Regions from separate parts of the Homo sapiens genome. Here region 1 is linked to region 2. The links are contacts of gene promoters, found by promoter capture Hi-C in human tissues and cell types (Jung and others, 2019). All regions are on one chromosome and are shown on one strand. The core of a region is centred on a gene start or on the middle of the fragment in contact, and the rest is flanking DNA. Distances in the headings are between cores, read along the strand shown.

The links. The method cuts DNA at HindIII sites, captures the fragments that hold promoters and counts their contacts. A contact is called where the count stands out against the background at its distance.
Region 1: a fragment that was not itself captured here is called in contact with the fragment with the promoter of GSX1 in region 2 in 1 of the 25 tissues and cell types used here (dorsolateral prefrontal cortex).

The regions. Positions count from the first base shown.
Region 1 is chr13:26,282,790-26,287,282 of GRCh38, forward strand. The region is part of intron 1 of CDK8 (cyclin dependent kinase 8); the gene reads left to right. Among named protein-coding and RNA genes, the nearest start is that of CDK8, 31 kb to the left of the region's middle. The HindIII fragment of the contact is 4,573 bases long and covers 353-4,493 here.
Region 2 is chr13:27,790,890-27,795,902 of GRCh38, forward strand. It overlaps GSX1 (GS homeobox 1), which reads left to right and starts at 1,594. Exons shown (of 2, transcript NM_145657.3): 1 at 1,594-2,213; 2 at 2,677-3,879. The coding sequence starts at 1,802. The coding sequence ends at 3,059. RefSeq lists enhancers at 1,521-2,324, 3,933-4,735. The HindIII fragment of the contact is 15,189 bases long and covers 1-5,013 here.

The DNA of each region.
Region 1 (4,493 bases), core at 1,389-3,888, 1.5 Mb before region 2:
ACCAACTAAGTATCTGCTGTCTTCAAGAGACTCACCTAACACATAAGGACTCACATAAACTTAAGGTAAAAGGGTGGAAAAAGATATTTCATGCAAATGGAAGCCAAAAGCAAGCAGGAATAGCTATTCTTATATCAGACAAACTTTAAAGCAACAACAGTTAAAAAAGACAAAGAAGGACATTATATAATAATAAAAGAATCCAGCAGGAAAATATCACAGTCCTAAATATATATGGACCTAACATTGGAGTTCCAAATTTATAAAACAATTACTACTAGACTTAAGAAATGGGATAGATGGCAACACAATAATAGTGGGGGATTCTAATACTCCATTGACAGCACAGGTCATCAAGACAGAAAGTCAACAAAGAATGGACTTAAACTATACCATAGAACAAATGGACTTAACAGATATTTACAGAATATTCCACCCAACAACTGCAGAATATACATTCTTGTCAGCACATGGAACATTCTCTAAGATAGACCATATGATAGGTCATGAAACAGGTCTCAATAAATGCAACAAAATTGGCTGGGCACGGTGGCTCATGCCTGTAATTCCACCACTTTGGGAGGCCGAGGCGGGCGGATCACAAGGTTAGGAGATCGAGACCTTCCTGGCTAACACGGTGAAACTCCGTCTCTACTAAAAATAAAAAAATTAGCTGGGCGTGGTGGCACGTGCCTGTAGTCCCAGCTACTCTGGAGACTGAGGGAGGAGAATTGCTTGAACCTGGGAGGCAGGGGTTGCAGTGAGCCAAGATCGTGCCACTGCACCCCAGCCTGGGCAACAGAATGAGACTCCGTCTCAAAAAAAGTAGACTGGGCACAGTGGCTTATGCCTATAATCCCAGCACTTTGGGAGGCTGAGGCGGGCGGATCACAAGGTCAGGAGTTTGAGACCAGCCTGGCCAATTTGGTGAAACCCCTTCTCTACTAAAATACAAAAAATTAGCCAGCCGTGGTGGCGTGCGCCTATAGTCCCAGCTACTCGGGAGGCTGAGGCAGGGGAATCACTTGAACCCTGGAGGTGGAGGTTGCAGTGAGCCGAGATCATGCCACTGCACTGCAGCCTGGCGACAGAGCAAGACTCCATCTCAAAAAAAAAAAAAAAAGTAACAAAATCAAAATTATATCAGGTACCTTCTCAGACCACAGTGGAATAAAATTGGAAATCAACTCCAAAAGGAACCATCAAAACTGTACAAATACATGGAAATTAAATAATCTGCTTCTGAGTGATCTTTGGCTTAACAATGAAATCAAGGTGGAAATTAAAAAATTCTTGCAACTGAACAGTAATAGTGACACAACTTACCAAACTTCTGGAATATAGCAAATGTGGTGCTGAGAAGAAAGGTCATAGCATTAAATGCCTGCATCAAAAAGTCTGAAAGAGCACAAAATCTAAGGTTACACCTCAAGGAACTAAAGAAACGAAGAACAAACCAAACCCAAACCCAAACGCAGCAGAAGAAAATAAATAACAAAGATTAGAGCAGAACTAAACAAAATTGAAACAGATAAACAAAAACAAAAGATAAATGCAAGAAAAAGCTGTTTATTTGAAAAGATAAACAACATTGAAAGACCATTAGTAAGATTAACCAAGAAGAGAGATGTAAATAAGCTCAATTAGAAATGAAATGGGAAATACTACAACTGATACCACAGAAATATAAAAGATTATTCAAGTTTACTGTGAGCACAAACTAGAAAATCTAGAGATGGATAAATTCCTGGAAATATACTACCCTACTAGATTAAATTGGAAGAAATAGAAACTCTGAACAGACCAGTAACAAGTAGCAAGATTGAAACAGTAATGAAAAAACTGCCAACAAAAAAAATTCCAGGACTGGATGGATTCACAGCTAGATTCTATCAGGCATTCAGAGAAGAATTGGTATCAGTTTTACTAAAACTATTCCACAAGATAGAGAAGGAGGGTACCCTCCCCAAATAAGTCTTTGAAGCCAGTATCACCCTAATACCAAAATCAGGAAAGGTTATAATAACAACAACAAAAACAAAAAGAAGGAAAGAAGGAAGGAGGCAGCAAGTGGGGGAGGGAGATTGGGGAGGGAGGAAGGAAAAGAAAACCACATACCAATATCCCTGATGAACATAAATGCAAAAATCCTCAAAAAAAAAAAAAAGTCTGGGTACAGTGGCTCATGCCTGTAATCCCAGCAATTTGAAAGGCTGATGTGGGTGGATCACCTGAGATCAGGAGTTTGAGACCAACCTGGCCAACATGTTGAAACCCTGTCTCTACTAAAAATACAAAAGTTAGCCGGGCGTGGTGGCACACGCCTGTAATTCCAGCTACTCAGGAGGCTGAGGCAGGAGAATCGCTTGAACCCGAGAGGTCGAGTGAGCTGAGATCATGCCACTGCACCCCAGTCTGGGCAACAAGAGCGAAACTCCGTCTCAAAAAAACAAAACAAAACAAAACAAAACAAAAACTAGCTAACCAAATTCAATAGCTTATCAAAAAGATAATACACCATAATCAAGTGGGTTTCATAACAGGGATGTAGTGATGAATTAACACATGGAAGTCAATAAATGTGATCCATCACATAAACAGAATTAAAAACAAAAATCAAAGATCGTATCAATAGTTGCAGAAAAAGCATTTAACAATATGATTAAAACCCTTAGCAAAATCAGTATAGAAGGGAGATACCTCGAAGTAATAAAAGCCGTCTGTGACAAACCCACAGCCAACATTATACTGAATGAGGAAAAGTTGAAAACATTTCCCCTGAGAACTGGAACAAGACAAGGATGCTCACTTTCACCACTTCCATTCGACATTGTACTAGAAGTCCCAGCCAGAGCAGTCAGACAAGAGAAGGAAATAAAGCGGATCCACATTGGTAAAGACAAAGTCAAACTGTCACTGTTCACCAATGATATGATCATATACCTAGAAAACCCTAAAGACCCAGAAAGCTCCTTGATCTCATGAATGAATTTAGTAAAGTTTCAGGATACAAAATCAGCGTACACAAATCAGAAGCATTGCTAAACACCAACAATAACAAAGCCGAGAATCAAATCAAGGACTAAAACCCCTTTACAACAGCTGCAATAAATAAATAAACAAACAAACAAATAAATAAAATACTTACGAATATACCTAATCAAGGAGGTGAAACATCTCTGCAAGGAAAACTGCAAAACATTGCTGAAAGAAATCATAGATGACTCAAACAAATGGAAACACATGCCAAGCTCTTGGATGGGTAGAATCAATATTGTGAAAATGACCATACTGCCAAAAGCAATCTACAGATTCAATGCAATTCCCATCAAAATACCATCGTCATTCCTCACAGAACTAGAAAAAACAATCCTGAAGTTCATATGGAACCAAGAAAGAGCCCACATAGCCAAAGCAAGACTAAGCAAAAAGAACAAATCTGGAGGCATCACATTATCTGACTTCAAGCTATATACTACAAGGCTATAGTTACCAAAACAGTATGGTACTGGTATAAAAATAGGCATGTAGACCAATGGAACAGATGAGAGAACCCAGAAATAAAGCCAAATACTTACAGCCAACTGATCTTTGACAAAGCAAACAAAAACATTAAATGGGGAAAGGACATCCCATTCAATAAATGGTGCTGGGATAATTGGCAAGCCACATGTAGAAGAATGAAACTGGATCCTCATCTCTCACCTTATACAAAAATCAACTCAAGATGGAGTAAAGACTTAAATCTAAGATCTGAAATTATAAAAATTCTAGAAGATAACATCGGAAAAACCCTTCTGGGCATTGGCTCAGATAAGGACTTCATGACCAAGAATCCAAAAACAAATGCAGCAAAAACGAAGATAAGTAGATTATTAAACGAAAAAGCTTCTGCACAGTAAAAGAAATAATCAGCAGAGTAAACAGACAACCCACAGAGTGGGAAAAACAATATTCTCAACTGTGCATCTGACAAAGGACTAATACCCAGAATCTACAAGGAACTCAAATCAGCAAGATAAAAAACAATCCCATCAAAAAGTGGGCAAGGGACATGAATAGACAGTTCTCAAAAGAAAATATACAAATGGCCAACAGACATATGAAAAAATGCTCAATATCACTAATTATCAGGGAAATGCAAATCAAAACCATAAGGAGATACCACCTTACTCCTGGAAGAATGGCCGTAATTTAAAAAATCAAGAAACAACAGATGTTGGTGTAGATGTGGTAAAAAGGGAACACTTTTACACTGCTGGTGGGAAAGTAAACCACTATGGAAAACAGTATGGAGATTCCTTAAAGAACTAAAATAGAACTACCATTTGATCCAGCAATCCCAGTACTGGGTATCTACTCAGAGGAAAAGAAGTCATTATTTGAAAAAGACACTTGCACACACATTTATAGCAGCACACTTCACAGTTGCAAAAAAATGGAGCCCACTTAAATGCCCATCAACAAACAAGTGGATAAAGAAAATGTAGTGT
Region 2 (5,013 bases), core at 344-2,843:
CAAGCAACCAAGAAAACATTGAACCCTTACTCCTGCTAGATGCCATGCCCTCCATGCAGGTTACTTCTCCCATTGTCCTATTCCCTTTTACAGAAGCAGTTATTATCTCGCAAAACAAATTATCTTTGCTTTTTAATCAGTTATAATCTGTTGCTGTTGTTATTGCAAAGATGTTGCCAAGGATAAAAGCCCATGCAGATGCTTCGGGTTTGGGCAATCTTATTCCTGCGCACTGCTTCCCCAGACCCCTAAGCTTCCCCCTCCATTTCTCACAATTCCATTCAGGGCTCAGAGCAGGTGACTGCAGCGATTTGGTTCCAATAAAATCGAAAGTAAACGTCTCCTGTGAAAAGTCCCGGGCTGTAAATTAGAAATGTTTATGCTGATTTCCCATTGTATGGAAAAAGCTCCTGGGCGAAACAGCTTTGAGCCCGAGAACGATTTAAAAAGCTGGAGCTGTGTACACAGCTCTGAGCGTTTGAAGTTGTTTAACCATTGTGTGACCAGAAAGAAGAGTGACGCGGCAGGAAGAAGAAGCCGGGTCTTGGGGAGAGCGGAGGCGGGTCAGGGTGGGCAAAGGCAGCCGATGCCAGGAATACAACCGCCCTTCGCGCCGTTCCAAACTAAGAGATGGCAGCGGTTTCCCAGCGCACTGCTGGAAGTGTGCTCCAGTAGACAGGGTGTGGGCAAGATGCGCGGGCAGACAGTCCGCACTCGCCACATGTGCTGGGGTGCGAGATCTAGATCTGCGCCATCTCGGCTTTCATTCCCCATTCCCTGTCTCTGTTCGTAACGCTCAGAGACTGTTTTTCCTCTTTTACATCCACGGCCCTGTCATTTGAAGGAAAGGGCTGGTTGGCCAGCATCTACCGAACAAAGACTGGGCGTCGTAGGCAGCACCAAAATTAAGACTATTTGAGAAACTTAGAGAAAACCGAGGGACAGCGATGGGTCTAGGGCTGGATAAGGAATAATGAGCCCTTCTCCTCCCTCCCCACAGACGCCTCCTTCACGCGGGAACCCGGTCCTCCTTCTTCCGACGCAGAGAGAGAAGCGATTCCACAGGTGGAAAATCTGAGACCGGCTGGAGGGAGGTTCGGGGGTGCACGGCACTGAGCTGACAGGGCTGACTGGAGACAGCATACTTTTGGGGTGTAAGGGCGATAATAGAAAGAAGGGGACCAGGACCAAGTGGACAGAGGATATGAGGGTGTGCGCCCATGGGGATCTGTAGAAGAGAGGCCGCGGGGGTGCAAAATCAGTAAGGTGAACGGGCTGATGGCCAATGCAAAGCCAAAGGGGAGTAAGAAATAAAGAGAAAGGAAAGAATATTAAATCGCGGGAGAATGAGAAAATAAACCCGCAAAAGGGAGAGGAGGGGGCGAGGGCGCCTGTTACGGCGTGGGTGGGGTTGACAAGAATAGAGTACATTATGCAGTTCATTTAGTTAACAAGTGAAATAATGAGGAAGCGTGCAGAGTGAATGCCAAGAGAAAAGGCACAAAAACCCTATTGAGAGGCCCCGGCCGCTCCTGGCGTAGTCCATCACATGGCAATAGTCCTATTTAAGCCGCGCCGCCGGCGCCTTTCAGCACCACTAGCGCTGGCCAGCACCCCGCGCTCTTTGGGCGGTGCCCACGGCAGCAGAGGCTACTGTTTCAGCCTAGGTCTCAGCCGCGCGTTCAGCCTCCTGGGCAGAGGCAGCTGCGGGATACCGCGGCCAGGGAAAGCGCGTGGAGAGCCGAAAGGTGCGGTGGGCGCAGAGGGCGGGCTGGCTGCGGGGCGACCGCGCGCCGGGGCCATGCCGCGCTCCTTCCTGGTGGACTCGCTAGTGCTGCGCGAGGCGGGCGAGAAGAAGGCGCCCGAGGGCAGCCCGCCGCCGCTCTTCCCCTACGCTGTGCCCCCGCCGCACGCGCTGCACGGTCTCTCGCCTGGCGCCTGCCACGCGCGCAAGGCTGGGCTGCTGTGCGTGTGCCCGCTCTGCGTCACCGCCTCGCAGCTGCATGGGCCCCCCGGGCCGCCCGCGCTGCCTCTACTCAAGGCTTCCTTCCCACCCTTCGGCTCGCAGTACTGCCACGCGCCCCTGGGCCGCCAGCACTCTGCTGTGTCGCCCGGGGTCGCTCACGGCCCGGCCGCCGCTGCTGCTGCCGCCGCGCTCTACCAGACCTCCTACCCGCTGCCTGACCCCAGGCAGTTCCACTGCATCTCTGTGGGTAAGCGGGGCCGCCGCGCAGAGGGACCGGGCAGAGGTGATCCGAAGCAGGATGGAGAGCCAGAGATGGAGGAAGAGGGACCCTGGGCTTTCTGGGGGCGGTGAGGGTCATGTCGGGGACTAAGGGGGGCGCTTGGGGTGGAGTGAGGATAGAGGGCCGGGACACAACGCCAGGAGGCGGATGAGGGCAGACGTCCAGGTCCTGGAGTGTGGGCCGGGGTAAGTGAGGGCTGGGATCCAAGGCTCTCCATGAAGGGGAAGGGGTTCCAGGGCTGCATGACTCCGGGAGAATCAGGATCTCGGAGCTGGACAAGGAGCGCTCACTGTAGCTCTGCTGTGGATTGTGTTGGGGCGAAGAGATGGGTAAGAGGTCAAAGTCGTAGGATTCTGGCGACCGCCTACCAAGGGATTGGGTCCACAGCACAGAGGTCTGATCGCTTCCTTCTCTGCTCTGCCACCTCCAGACAGCAGCTCTAACCAGCTGCCCAGCAGCAAGAGGATGCGCACGGCTTTCACCAGCACGCAGCTGCTAGAGCTGGAGCGCGAGTTCGCTTCTAATATGTACCTGTCCCGCCTACGTCGCATCGAGATCGCGACCTACCTGAATCTGTCCGAGAAGCAGGTGAAGATCTGGTTTCAGAACCGCCGAGTGAAGCACAAGAAGGAGGGCAAGGGCAGCAACCATCGTGGCGGCGGCGGCGGGGGTGCCGGTGGTGGCGGGAGCGCACCGCAAGGCTGCAAGTGCGCATCGCTCTCCTCAGCCAAGTGCTCCGAGGATGACGACGAATTGCCCATGTCTCCGTCCTCCTCAGGGAAGGACGACCGGGATCTTACGGTCACTCCCTAGGCGCGTGTCTCCCTAGGTCGCCCACCCCAAGACCTCCCTGCGCCTCGGAGACTAGTCCTGGGACTCAGCGCTGATTCCCAGGCACCCGCAGCCAAACCACTGCCTGGCATGGATTTGGCACTGCTTTGCAGAGGTCCCGGGCCTGGGCAGGGCTGAGAGCTTGGCAGAGACTGGACCATGGCGTCCCCGCCCCAGGGCTCGCTCGTGTCCAAAGCCAACTCCAAGCTGTGAACACTGTAAGCGCTCGAGTCCTCCTGGGCAGTGCAGCACCGCGGCCCCCGCCCGCAAGCCTGCTTGGCGCAGCGCCTTGCTGGCAGCCGGCGCCTCCTAGCCCGCCCTCTCTGGGCTGGCTTGGGCTTCCTCGCTTACTCTACTCTCCTCCGCTCTCGGTCAAGGTCGGCGGCCTTGGATGCTCGTTCGCTTCTCTTTTTAAAATGTCTTTTTGTCCCTCCCCACCTCTTTCCTGTGATCATTTATTCACTCGGCCCCCGCCCGCCAACACACACATTTATGAACCCCCACTTTTTTTTTCCTTCTCCTTTTCCCTTCCCCTCCTCAGGGAGCCTCCTCCTTCAGTCAGTCCATTTGTCCCTTGATCTGGCCTTGCTGTCCTCAGTCCCCACGGCTCCTCTCACAGATGATAAATTTCGCCCGTAGTATCCATATTGGGGAAACAGATTTGCTCTGTTTCCAACACGCTCTTCCTTCCTCTAAACATAGGACCCCGCTCTGCGCCGCTGGCGACCCCACTCTTCCCCCTCCAGACTCTGGCCCGCCCCAGCCTAGCTGTGTAATTGTACGGCCTCTGCAATGCCAGAAGATATTTATTTATTTATTTATGTACAAAATTTTAAATAAACTTTTTTTTTTCTTAGAAATGCCCGTGGCTCTGAGCCCAGAGGCCTTCGCTCTGGAGTAGACAGGCGCCAACCCGGATTGGGCCTCCCTTCTGGGAAGGGTTGGGGATCCAGTTGCAGGGTCCGAGCCGGCTCCTCGCCTTACAGCTCAGCCAGTGCCTCTCGGAACCCTCAGCTCCGCTGAGAGCCCGCCTTGCATGCCAGCCAGGTGCGCGCTAACGATTGTCCCGCTCCGGCGTGGCGCACAAGCGTCGCGGAGCTCAGAGAGCTAAGCCGGAAGGGAAGGAGAGCGCTCTCCTTGGACTGCACCATGGGTCCCAACCCCTGCAGCGCCTCCTTCTCACCTGGGATCCAGCCCCACCTCCATCCCTCACCATTTCGCTGTCCTGGCCAACAGCCGGGAGGGCAGAAACCACTCCCTCCATAAGCACAAGAAATCCGTCCTTCACTGCGCTTGGATTGATAACGATTCGTTAGGGACAAATTTCCATTCTGCGGGATGGTGCAGACTTCTCTCAGAGGGCCCTCCTCTCTTTGTTTTAAGGCAAATTCCCTTAGCCGAGTCCCTGGTCGCGGAACATTCCGGGCAAGGAATCCGAGAATCCGAAGTGATCCTGCCCCAGGGAGTCCCCGAGAGGGACTCTGCATAGCTGGAGCCAGTGGCTCTGGGACCTCATGTTCTCACCAATTCTCGTTAAAATCCTATATCCCCCTACGACTTAGAATCCACACCCCAGCTCCCTTTGAGGACATATGCGGGTTTTTTTACTCTCTAAGATGGATGAGGAGAAGGAAGTGCGTGAGGTTCTGCAGAAACGGAGAGCGCACAGCTGCGGGAGGAGTATTTCTGCAGTCAGTATTTCTGCAGTCAGACCTGGGAAGCTAATATCCGCGTTCTCGCCGCTCCCATTCTGTGTCCAGGAAACCTGATAGACCTTCTTTTCCTGCCAGACCCCTACACACACACACAGACACACACACACATACACACCCTGGGGAGCGCTGAACTCCCCGTGTCTAGGCAAAGCAAATGCGTCTTTTCCAGCAGGAAAGACGGTCCACCTGAGGTTGCTTAACATTTTTGAAGCTCATTTCCT